3 separate regions of the Homo sapiens genome follow, and regions 2 and 3 are each linked to region 1. The links are contacts of gene promoters, found by promoter capture Hi-C in human tissues and cell types (Jung and others, 2019). All regions are on one chromosome and are shown on one strand. The core of a region is centred on a gene start or on the middle of the fragment in contact, and the rest is flanking DNA. Distances in the headings are between cores, read along the strand shown. Region 1 holds the start of GSTA2 (glutathione S-transferase alpha 2). Region 2 has its middle 42 kb from the start of GSTA2. Region 3 has its middle 9.3 kb from the start of GSTA1.

The links. Contacts are between HindIII fragments. The study calls those that stand out against the background at their distance.
Region 2: a fragment that was not itself captured here is called in contact with the fragment with the promoter of GSTA2 in region 1 in 2 of the 25 tissues and cell types used here (liver and stomach).
Region 3: a fragment that was not itself captured here is called in contact with the fragment with the promoter of GSTA2 in region 1 in 1 of the 25 tissues and cell types used here (pancreas).

Annotation. Positions count from the first base shown.
Region 1 is chr6:52,761,611-52,765,766 of GRCh38, reverse strand. GSTA2 (glutathione S-transferase alpha 2) reads left to right here and starts at 2,292. Exons shown (of 7, transcript NM_000846.5): 1 at 2,292-2,323. It also overlaps the pseudogene GSTA12P. The HindIII fragment of the contact is 12,217 bases long and covers 1-4,156 here.
Region 2 is chr6:52,718,932-52,723,087 of GRCh38, reverse strand. No RefSeq gene overlaps it. Among named protein-coding and RNA genes, the nearest start is that of GSTA2, 42 kb to the left of the region's middle. RefSeq lists a silencer at 531-645. The HindIII fragment of the contact is 7,388 bases long and covers 1-4,156 here.
Region 3 is chr6:52,811,052-52,815,207 of GRCh38, reverse strand. It overlaps the pseudogene GSTA6P. Among named protein-coding and RNA genes, the nearest start is that of GSTA1, 9.3 kb to the right of the region's middle. The HindIII fragment of the contact is 8,412 bases long and covers 1-4,156 here.

The DNA.
Region 1 (4,156 bases), core at 1,043-3,542:
TTCTAACTCAATTTTCCCATATCTTCACTTCTTCTGCTTAGAGACTGATCTGTGCTGATATCTCACAGGCACATTGTTCTTTCTCATCTTCTACAAGAGCCATGAATCTACAAGATTCATGTGTAAGGAAGAGGGTAGGAAGACTGAACTGAATAAAGTCTTAAAGACATTTTTTGGGAAAATGCTAGTGAGCTGCATGTTCTTCCTCTTATCTTCATTTCTCACGTAGTGTCTCTTTCTGCCTCCCTACTGGTGCTGATAGAGGGAACTTAGTTGGTCTTTGTGTAGGAGGGGCGCAGATTCCCTGGGTTGTGTTAATGGTGGTGTCAGTCCTTGGCTTCACTCTGAGGCTGTGCTTTGTGCATTGCGGGCCCTGAAAATCAGAATCAGCAAACTCCCCACAGTGAAGAAGTTTTTGCAGCCTGGCAGCCTGAGGAAGCTTCCCATAGATGCAAAAGGTTTACAAGAAGCAACAAAGATTTTCAAGGTTTGATAAAGCAGGCATGGATGCCAAGAACATGCAATACCAATATTCTAAAGTTTTGCAACAATAAATTGCTTTATCTAAATGTTGGTTGTGGCTATTGTGAAGTTAATAAACTTTTTAAAAATTGTATGCTAATTACATAGTAAAATGCCTATGACCAGATTTAGTTAAAATTGATTTCTTTTCATTAGTATCTGATATGAAATCAGATTTCCGAACTGCCCATAAATTTTCTTGGAATTAAAAATTTAGTAAAAAGTACAATGTAGACTATGTGGTTTGTTTGACTTTTTCAAGAATTGTCCTGCAACATTTGTGAAATTGCCTATCAAAAACTCATGTATAGAAATTTACTTCTGACATTCTGCACAAGAAAACAGTTATCATTCTGGGGAATGGCAAAATGAAATTTTCTTTTTTCCTTGACATCCATTTTATTTCTCATGAAAACACTTTTTCTTATGCATTTTCAAACAACCTTTCTGTCTGCTATGGATCCCTCAGTTTTCTAGGAGGTGAGGAAATATTGAAGAGCAAACAGACCCACCCTCTGCTCTCAGGCCAACTTGTCATCCCTTACAGTGCATGTGCTCCTGGCTCATCCTCACTCTCCTCCTTAAGGCTCTGTGGGGACCCGGGCATAAGCCTTCCCTCAGTTCGTTCAGTGCCACTCAGGCCTGGCTGCGAAGATACAGATGGTATATGTGAATTACGTATAAGTAACTATATTTAAAATTATTTTTCCCTGGTGTGTCATTGTGCCAGCGTGTTTGGATTAGAAGTGATTTCCAGGAATCCTTCCCTGCGTCTTCTAGTTTCGGGGGGCTCTTGGCCTTTCTGGACTTTCATGGATCATGACCACATCACTCTAATTTCTGCCTCTGTCTTCCTGCACCTCACCCCCTGTGTGTTGTGTCTTCTCTTCTCTCTGCTGTGAGGACAATTGTCATTGGATTTGGGGCCTATCCAGATATACCAAGATGATCTCATCTCAAATTCTTTTACTTCATTACATCTGCAAAGAGCCTTTTTCCAAATAAGATCAAGTTCACAGGATCTAGGGATTTATATATGGACCTGTCTTTCTTGGGGTCCAACATAACCCCCTACATGGTGTAGATGAAGAAAGAATATTTGCAATTGATGAATCCAGGTGATGGATACTTTCATATTTGTTATATTATGGGCAATTTGAGTGACGCAAAGAGGATAGCATATGCAAATAGGGTTCCCGGATTTGTCAGATAAAATGCAGGATACCCACCTAAATGTGAATTTCAGGTAAACGATAAATAATATTTCAGTATAATCTGGTTTCATACCGTGTTTGGAACATAGCTATAACTAAAAAATTGTTGATTGTTTGCCTGAAATTCACATTTACATGGATGTCCTATATTTTATTTGGCAACCCAGTAAGAAAACGGTGGCATCAGCTTGCCCTTCACAGACATCCTCTCCCAGCTATGCTCACAATAGGGTTTTTTCAGTTGCCCTAGTCTTTGCATCCAACTCATGAAAAAAAGTATCTTTAAAAAGCCAGTTTCTGCTGACTTGCAAAAAGAGCAAAATCTAGGTGAAATGTATTGTTTAAACTTTGATTACCAACCTTGAAAAGGAACATATTAACCAGTGTCTTCTGATAAGCAGATCACTTGCCTCATGTCTTAGAATCCAGTAGGTGGCCCCTTGGCCATGAAATGTGTGGGAGTGGCTTTTCCCTAACTTGACCCTTCTTTCAGTGGGAGGGAACTATTGAGAGGAACAAAGAGCTTATAAATACATTAGGACCTGGAATTCGGTTGTCCAGCCACAAAGGTGACAGCATTTAACAAAGTAAGTACTGATCTTATAAATCTCTCTACATTGCCTCACACCCTCCTCTCTAGCCTCCTAGAAAAATACACTAATATGTGTCCTTAGCACAAGAAAAAGTTTGTTTTTACTCATATCATGCCATCTTGGTGTGTTTGGGTGACAGTTCAAGAACTGTTTATTTCTTTTCTGTTGGATACATCTTTACAGAAATGTAAAAATGAAGAGTTTAGAAAACCAGGGCCTCAGCATTTAAAGGTATGGGAAACAATGACATGAGGAGAAAAAAGAAATGGTAGCATTTTAAACAATCTGAGAATAATCAGTGCTGGAAGAAGTGGCAATGTATGCAAAAATTTCTTTATATATATAGTCAACACACAATTGTAAATTGTGACACTGTAATTCTATATTGGCTGTGAAAATTCAAAACTAAGGTTTATTATAATTAGAAAAAATTAGTTTGAATGTTAGGAGGACTAGATTCTAGTTGAGCCTCTGCCACTAATTAGCTCGACGACAAGTCATATTCTGTCTCTGGAGTACTACCAACTCATGGCCAATATAGAGAATAGCTAAGAAAGAGGCTCTGACTGTTGCTGCGAACTGTGTAATTCTTTGAACGGAGATCTGTCCTGCCCACTCTAGGATATTTCTAAGCATCCCTGAAGGGGTGGCCTGCCCCTCCACACCTGTGGGTGTTTCTTGTTGGGTGGGATGAGAGACTGAGAAAAGAAAGAGACACAGAGACAAAGTATAGAGAAAGAAAAGTGGGTCCAGGGGACCGGGGCTCAGCATATGGAGGACCTGCGCTGGCGCCAGTCTCTGAGTTCCCTCAGTATTTATTGATCATTATCTCTACCATCTCAGAGAGGGGGATGTGGCAGGACAATAGGATAATAGTGGGGAGAGGGTCAGCAGGAAAACGTGAACAAACTCACGTCTCTGTGTCATAAACAAGGTTAGAAAATGTGCTGTGTTTTGATGTGCACATACATAAACATATCTGGTGCATTAAAGAGCAGTATTGCCGCCAGCATGTCTCACCTCCAGCCTTAAGGCAGTTTTCTCCTATGTCAGTAGATGGAACATACAATTGGGTTTTACACCAAGACATTCCATTGCCCAGGGATAAGCGGGAGACAGATGCCTTCCTCTTATCTCAACTGCAAAGAGGCCTTCCTCTTTTACTAATCCTCCTCAGCACAGACCGTTTATGGGTGTCGGGCTGGGGGACTATCAGGTCTTTCCCTTCCCACGAGGCCATATTTCAGACTATCACATGGGGAGAAACCTTGGACAATACCTGGCTTTCCTAGGCAGAGGTCCCTGCGGCCTTCCGCAGTGTTTTGTGTCCCTGGGTACTTGACATTACTGAATAGTGATGACTTTTAACAAGCATACTGCCTTCAGGCATTTGTTTACAAAGCACATCCTCCATAGCCCTAAATCCATTAAACCTTGAGTCCACACAGTACATGTTTCTGTGAGCACAGGGCTGGGGGTAGGGTTACAGATTAACAGCATCTCAAGGCAGAAGAATTTCTCTTAGTACAGAACAAAATGGAGTCTCTTATGTCTACTTCTTTCTACATAGACATAGTAACAGTCTGATCTCTCTTTCTTTTCCCCACACATCCCTGCCCTCTACCTATCTGATTTGTAGCCCCCCTCCCTCTCTGCAGATATAGCAACCCAAAATGTCTCTAGACCTTGCTCAATGTCCTCTGGAGCAGAGGAACAAAATCCCCCTGGTTGAGAACCATGGGACTACATGACCTCATGGGGCTAAGCAAGGCTGTGTTACCGATGTGCCCCACTGCTTGGACATTCACTGAAAACTTCCTGTTAATC
Region 2 (4,156 bases), core at 422-2,921, 42 kb after region 1:
TCTGCTCTCCAGCTGGTCTCTTCAGCTGCCTCTGTCCTTTGGAAGGCTTCCTTCTGCTTAGAAACAGGCCCAGGCCTCCACTGTCCTAACCTTCTTAGCCATGCACCCACACTCCTCAGAAGAAACCAAGAAACACTCCACAACAAATTTTTAAAGTTCTTTATCCTTGGCTAGTTTTCCCTTTTGCTATTTCCTTCTTTCTTTTCACGTCCAAAACTTGAGTAGTCTGCATTCTAGCTCTACTTCCTCTCTCAAAGTCTTGAATTTTAAATTCTTTTTTTTTTTTCCTTTGAGATGGAGTCTCGCTCTGTCGCCCAGGCTGGAGTGCAGTGGCACAATCTCGGCTCACTGCAAGCTCCGCCTCCCAGGTTCTCGCCACTCTCCTGCCTCAGCCTCCCGGGTACCTGGGACTACAGGCGCCCGCTACCACGCCCGGCTAATTTTTTGTATTTTTAGTAGAGACGGGGTTTCACCGTGTTAGCCAGGATGGTCTCGATCTCCTGACCTCGTGATCCTCCAGCCTCAGCCTCCCAAAGTACTGGGATTGTAAGCATGAGCCACCACGCCCGGCCAAATTTTAATTTCTTAATCAATGAACTAATCATCTTAGTTCTATGAGTTTCAAGGTCTTTTCTCAGTCTATCTTTAACTTTTATACTGCAAATACCAGGCCAAGCTCCCTTTCCATCAGCAACTTTCTGCCGCAGTCTCCCACCCTTCACCAAGCACTAGTGCTCAGATTTTCCTGTGGCTCATTTTTTCTTAGTTTCATGATTTATATATCTTCTTTGCCAACATGTTGTCACATGGATCCCACCCAGTCCTGCTTCATGTCAAAAGGCCAGGATTTTCTTGAAATAAATAACAAGTTATTAAGGACAGCCCTCCTGCCTCCATAGCACAGTCCTGTGAAGAAAGCTATGAAAAGATTACCGAGGCTGACATTGGGTAGTGAACACAGTATTTAGCAGGGCAACTTGGATGTGCCTCCAGAATGGCATGACCACTATTCCACTCATTGCACTCCACTCCTTATCTTGAAATGTTCTCCCCACTGCTCTCTGCCAGTCTGTATCAACTTCTTCTCCATCATGACACCTTCACAAATACTGGACATTCCAACAAGGGGTCTTTGTAGATCTGTGTTTCTTTCCATGCTGCTCCCACGTCCTCAAGTGATAGTTTTGTCATTCTAATATTGGGGAAGATATGGAAGAGGATGGCAGTAGTGGTGGAGAAGCAGCTCTCACACAGTAGGAAGGTGGCTATTACGTATTGTAGGTGAAAGCCAGGACTCATGCATCTGAGATGAGGATGCACTGAAGCTGGTTAAAATTCTGTTATTATACATCCTCAGCCTATTGTTCTACCTCAAGACCCATGCATGCTTTCTTCTAAGGTTGCCCTCAATACTGGTTGTTCTGGTATTGTAAGGAAACAAAGAAGGAAGAATCAAGCATCAAAACTCAACACCTCTAGTTCTCCCCTTTAGTTTACAGATGAAAGCACTGGGGTTCAGAGAGGTTGAGATTTATCTAAGGACACAAAGCTGATCAATGGTAGAATCAGCCTAGAACCCAGGTCTTCAGAATCACTAGCAAGAGCCTTTTCCATTTATCCATTGATTCAGCAAATAATTTTTTTAGTTCTAATCTATAAAATGTTGCACTAGGACAGAGATACAGTGCTGAACAAGATGGGACAAAGGCCTTTGACCTCAAGGAATTCACATTGTAGTGGGAGGAGACAGACTACAAACAAAAAAGAAAGAGTGATAAATATCTCAATAATTATAGCCTATGATTGGGATGTGAAGAAAATTAAGCAGGGACTATGTATTAGACTGTTCTCAGGCTGCTAATTAAAAGACACACCCAAGCCTGGATAATTTATAGAGGAAAAAGGTTTAATAGACTCACAGTTCCACATGCCTGGGAAGGCCTCACAATCAGGGAGGAAGGCTAAAGGCATGTCTTACGCTGCAGCAGTCAAGAGAGAATGGGAACCAAGTGAAAGGGGTTTCCCTTTATAAAACCATCAGATTTCGTGAGACGTATTCACTACCACGAGAACAGTATGAGAAAAATGCTCCCGTGATTCAGTTATCTCCCAGCGGGTCCTTCCCACAACATGTGGGAATTATGGGAGCTACAATTTAAGATTTGGGTGGGGACAGAGCTAAACCATATCAGACTATAATAGAGAGTAGTTGGGGAGAGCTTTACTTTAGATGGATGGTGAGGGAAACATAAAAATTGAGAGAAAACTAAGTATGCAAAGAGATGGAAGGGAGGTTTTGGGGCAAAGGAACCAGCATTTTCACAGGTTTGAAGAGAGAAAGTACTCAGTGTCTCTGTGTACCCCAAGCCCCTGGAGCTTGGCTGAAGAGTAGAGGGCAGAGGTGTGGCTTGAGGAGGGGGGTGGGAGGTGGTAGATGACTCACTGCTGTAAGTCCCGTCAAGGAGTATGGATTTTATTCTAGGTGAAATGGGAATCCAAAGGCTGGCCCTCTTCCATGCAGATTTTGCCCAGAAGACACAGTATTTTGGGAGGTATGGTTCCACACTACAGCTATTTGAAAGCATAACTGAAACTTATGAGGAAAAATCCATCTGCTTCTGTACCAAAAAAAGAATGAAGATAAAACTGAAAATCAGTCATAGTGTGTGGATTTGCCAAACTAAATTAAATTACTTTTCTGGAGTCTAGTGGATAAGTGTCTTAGTCCATTCAGTGGCTGGAATAAAATGCCGTAAACTGAGGTGTTTATAAACAACAGAAATTAATTTCTCACAGTTCTGGATGCTGAGAAGTCCGAGGTCAAGGCTCAGGCAGGTGTCTGGTGAGGGCCTGTTTCTTCGTAGACGGTGTATTAGTCCGTTCTCACACCACTATAAAAATACTGCCCAAGACTGGGTAATTTATATAGGAAAGAGGTTTAATTGACTCACAGTTTCACAAGGCTGGGGAGGCCTCAGGAAACTTACAATTACAGCAGAAGGCAAAAGGGAAGCAAGGCCCTTCTTCACATGGTGGCAGGAGACAGAAGTGCAAGCGGAGGAAATACCAAACACATAAAACCATCAGATATCGTGAGAACTCACTCACTATCATGAGAATAGCATGGGGGAAACTGTTCCCATGATCAGATCACTTCCCTCCCTTGACACATGGGGATTACAATTCAAGATGAGATTTGGGTGAGGACACAGAGCCAAACCATATCAGACAGTGCCTTCTTACTGAGTCCTCACATGGTAGAAGGGGCCAGCAAACTCCCTTGGGCCTCATTTATAATGGCCCTAAAGGCACTAATTCCATTCATGAGGCTCTGTCCTCATGACCTAGGCACCTCCCAAAGGCCCCACTTCTTAATGGCATCACCTTGGAGATTAGGTTTCAACATATGAATTTTAGGGGGACACAAACATTCAGACCATAGCAATAAGAATGTTGGTAAAATTTCTAAAATAAATGAATTATGCTGACACAAACAGGGCAGCTACTAACTCATAACTATAACTGAGACTGCTATTTGCCAGATACAGCTCACAGAGAAGGTAAATGTCAATCGAAACATTTTAACAGAACAATTTAAATATACTCCAAGAGCATCCCCCTTAAACTCACCAAATCATTTCAAAACTAAAAGCAGACCTGTGAATGTGGTTAATTGCCTCTAATATCATGTTTTATAAGTTAGTATTTTTATGTTAAGTTTTCTTAAAATGAAGCTTCCAGTATAAGGATGCCTGTTTGAACTTAAACATATGGTCCACACACATACACATACATGAAGAAAACGTGTACCAAATGTTTAAGGGCTGAATTGCACTGAATTATGAAGTTCCATGATTTAAGATTCACAATTTTAAAACATTGGATTAATATGTAACATGTCATTGGGACTTCTTACAAAAAGAATTGATTTTGCTTAATTTTTTTTCAATACAGTTTAAATAAACTAACTTGTTTGCTTATCTAGCTATCTCCGATTATTTTACAAAGCTTTATTTTCCACTGTTGGTAACAATTTAGTAACTAGTGCCAAGCAATGTCCTGCAAGGAGAGTGAAGTGCAGACCTTTCTAAGTGAGACCAGTATGTGCCGAGGCACCATCTTCATGGGAGCAAAAAAATCCCACTTTATATCACAA
Region 3 (4,156 bases), core at 1,046-3,545, 49 kb before region 1:
AGCTTGACTGAAGGCGGGGGCAGGGCTGACTGCAGACCTTGCTCAGGCTTCTGGGGTCTCAGTGCCCTAAGGCTGATGATCACAACCCAGTCCTCAGCCTCACAAGCACATCCCACTTGCCAATCCCACCCCACCTCGGTCACCCTCCTGCCAGGACCACCCACCGTTCCTTAGGTTTGTCCTGAATTGGACGCTTTATTAATTGCTGGCACACACCCCCCATGATCTCCACATCCTGGTCCTGTGCGATCATAGATCCACAACAAACTGTTCCATGGAGCAAGCTAGAAACCCCCAAATTCCTGAACTTTCACCGTAAAGAACTCCATTAAACTATAAGTAACCACTGCAAACACAACTACCATTTATTACTTGATGTTGATGCACGCGGGTCAGGCCCTGTATCATGCATTTTGAAAACATTACAATATTCTGTTTAAGAAAATATTCTATCCCCATTTTGCAGATGAGGAAACTAAGGCTTGAAGATGTTAAGTGATGATTCCCAGATCACACAGCTATTTTGAGGCAGAGTCAAGATTGGTACCAGATCATATCAACAGTGAAATACAGGAAATCTTGGTAAGTGTCTACTTTGACTTTTATTTTTATAGATTCTGCCTATTAAGTCAACTGCATTGTTATGCAATAACTGGTTTTCATAGTTGTATTAAATACCTGCATCCACTCAGAGCTTCTGATCAGATTGAGACAGCCTTATTGCTGGCTGCCATTCCAACCAAAGTGACTACACTCAGGACAAGGTGTGATTTATTTCAAAGTTTAAATCACTGATATAGATCAGCAATAGAGTATATTTTCATCAATATTAGATTGATTTAATTTTTTTAAGGATGATATGAAATAGCAGCCATACTTCAGAATCCTAATAGTGTATGTTTAATGAGCACTTACACACTTGCTACTTTTCTGAGTGCTTTGCATGACTTTGAAATTTAATCTTCATACCAACCTATAACATAGGTACCATAAGTATTCCCATTTCATAGATTAGGATACTGAGACACAGAGAGATTTAACAATGTGTCCAAAGTCAAGAAGCCAGGACATGACAACAGTGATATTAAACCCACACAGCCATGTCACAAGCCAGAGATTTTCATTAAAAATAATGTTACTGTGGGGACTTTAATTCCTTCCTGAAATTGAGAATTCTATTCTATTGTGTCCCATATTCTCCAGGAGGGAAAATTATAATTGCAAGAGTTATAACTGTGCAACAGCTATGACCTATTTCAACTTTAGCAGGGCTCCTACAAACTAAGCTGATGTAAATTATAGCAGAGGGCCCTTGGTGGCAGAATCTTTGGTGGCCACTGGCCTATGGCATACCCATGCTGGGGTCACAAAGGTTGTGGTCTGATCTCACTCAGAGACATATGCTTTCCTAAGATATGACAACATCATAATTAGAAGAACTGCATGATCCTTTAACTGCAGTGACATCCCCTCTCAAATCATGACCTAATCATGGACATGGGAGCGATCAAGGTGGAAGTAAAGTGAACTAGAAGATTGAGCGACTATGTGCTGTGATCCATGCCCTTTTCTCGATGATCTAGTGTAAATTTCAAAATGGCCACCACCAGCCTCCTCTGTGTGCTCTGCCAAGCTCAGAAATCTTATATTTTCCAAATTATGTACCAGCCAGAAGCCATTCAAGGTTAAAGGTCTACAGTGCTATGGAATGAATTAATAAGAGCCCATTTACTGTTTCTGCTTCCAGTTTGAAGAGAAATTTCTGGAATCTGCAAAAGATTTGGAAAAGTTAAGAAATAGTAAGATCAAGTCTCTAAGTGCCTCTGAGGAGGGTATCTAGTAGAAGGTACACAGGGAGGTTTGAACAGCCAGCAATGCTTACATGTGTGTAGGGTTGTAGTTGGTGATGGTGGAGAGGGAGAAAATCATAAAATGGAAAGGATGGGCTCCTAGAGCAGGTCTGGCAACTCTTTCCAGGCTAAAAAGGGCCAGACTTCTCTTTGTATTTGCTGGAGAACCATCTCCAGCACTCTGAGGATCCCTTTTCTTGCTTTCCTGCTTTTGGCACCATGAGTGAGCTGTGGTCATCAACTCAGGATCTCATATAGCCCACCCCATCCAAAGACACGCAAGGACATGTTTTAGACAAAAGGAGTTGAAATAGGTCCATTTTGAATTGTTTCTATTATAAGTTTGACAAGGTGATATCTTTGCAATATTGTCTGCTTAGATAATGAGACAGTGTTGACTTGGTTGGAAGTCCAGGTCACAGGGTGAGGAGGGACATGAGCCAGGGTAGAAGCCATGGGGTAAGAAACACAGAGCCTGCCCTGCACACACTGTCTAATGGGGGTATTGAAGGGCACACAAAGAGCCTACATAGAAGCTTCTCTCAGAACTGTGTTTAATGTCTTCAACAGCATGAGACTTACTTTGAGAAATTCCCATGTTAAATGGCATCTGGCTGGTGACCTGTTGCAGTCTCTCCCAACTTCTTCCTAAGATATCATGAAAATAAATCAACACAGACAATACAAGCGACCTATTCTGTAGCTGGATGGGAAATAAAAACATAAATGAAGTAACAGTATAAAAAGTAAAAGAACGCTTGATAAGAAAAAGCACTTCCAGAAGCTAAAAATAAGTTCCTATTTCATTTGAACAGTTGCCAGGCAATTTTTTTTTCATTTTATACATTTAGTCATTTCCACAACCACTTTTTCATCCTGAAAGGGTGGGATTCATAGAAATTTCACTCTGCCTTTTTTTTTTTTTCTATTTTCTAAAGATGGGAGTTTGTTCTTCCAGCAAGTGCCAATGGTTGAGATTGACGGGATGAAGCTGATGCAGACCAGAGCCATTCTCAACTACATTGCCAGCAAATACAACCTGTGTGGGAAAGACATAAAGGAGAGAGCCCCATATAGTATATTTTTTGTTCTTCCATCAACAGAGAACACAGAGTGATTTCGGTCCTTCTGTGAGTGGGCAGGACCGTGGAAGGAGCATCACGACTAGCAGCAGGCTGGGCCTTGGGCATATACGCTGGTGTCCAGTATTGCAGAGTCCCATGGAGATGAGAAAAGAGTGAATATGGGGAGGGTTCAGGCAAGTGTGATTCTAGAAGACAATGCAGCCTATGGATCCAGCACCCTGACAAAGGTTTCCAAACGCTGATGAACCATGAACTCAGGAGGATGGGGAATCATGATTCCAGGTGCTCGGGACTTCAGAGGCTGGACTCCAGCCAACAGCTTAGGACAAGGCATAGAATGTTTGAGAGTCGGTAGATGAAGGCCTGGGGAGAGAATGCTGCAAAGGAGCTGAATCTCAGGTTCCAGTAATTCCAAGAATGGTGACCAGGAACCTAAGTTTCCAGCCAGTTGTATGAACTGGTCCACTTGACTAAGGTTTGAGAGGCTGGTGCCCAAGATACCAGGATTACCTAAAGTGCAGCATTTGATACAGACCTAAGCAGCCAGACTGATTTTGCATCAGCAAAGCTGGGAGGAGGGGTCTCCTCCTTTGCTGGCAGTTCCTTGAGAAGTCCAATATAGAGTTACCAATGACCTAGCAATTCCACTACCAGGTCTACATCCAGGAGAAAGGAAAACACATCCTCACTAATCCATGCACAGAAATGTTCATAGGAGAATTATTCATGCTATGCAAAAGGTGGAAACAACCCAAATGTCCACCCATGGATGAATGGAGGAACAAGTTGTGCTGTAGCAGACAATGGAATATTCTTGGGCTATGAAAAGGGATGAAGTACTGATGCATGCTACAACATGGGTGAGCCTTGAAAACATGTTCCATAAAAGAAACCAGACACCAAAGGCCACATGTAACATGAATTCTTTTGTATGAACCATCCAGACCATTTGAGTCCAGAAAGGAAATCAGTTGTTGACAGGGGCTGGAGAAAGGGGACAATGGGGAATGGCTGCCAAAGCATGTGCTACTGCTTTCCCAGGTGATAAAAATGTTCTGGAATTAGACAGTGACAGTATTTGCAGAATTCTGTAAATGTACTAAAAATTACTGAATAATATTCTGTTAAGGGGTGGCAATTATAGTATGTGAATACATGTCAATAAAGCTGTTATTTAAAAGTATTCGCCAGGTATGGTGGCTCACGCCTGTAATCCCAGCA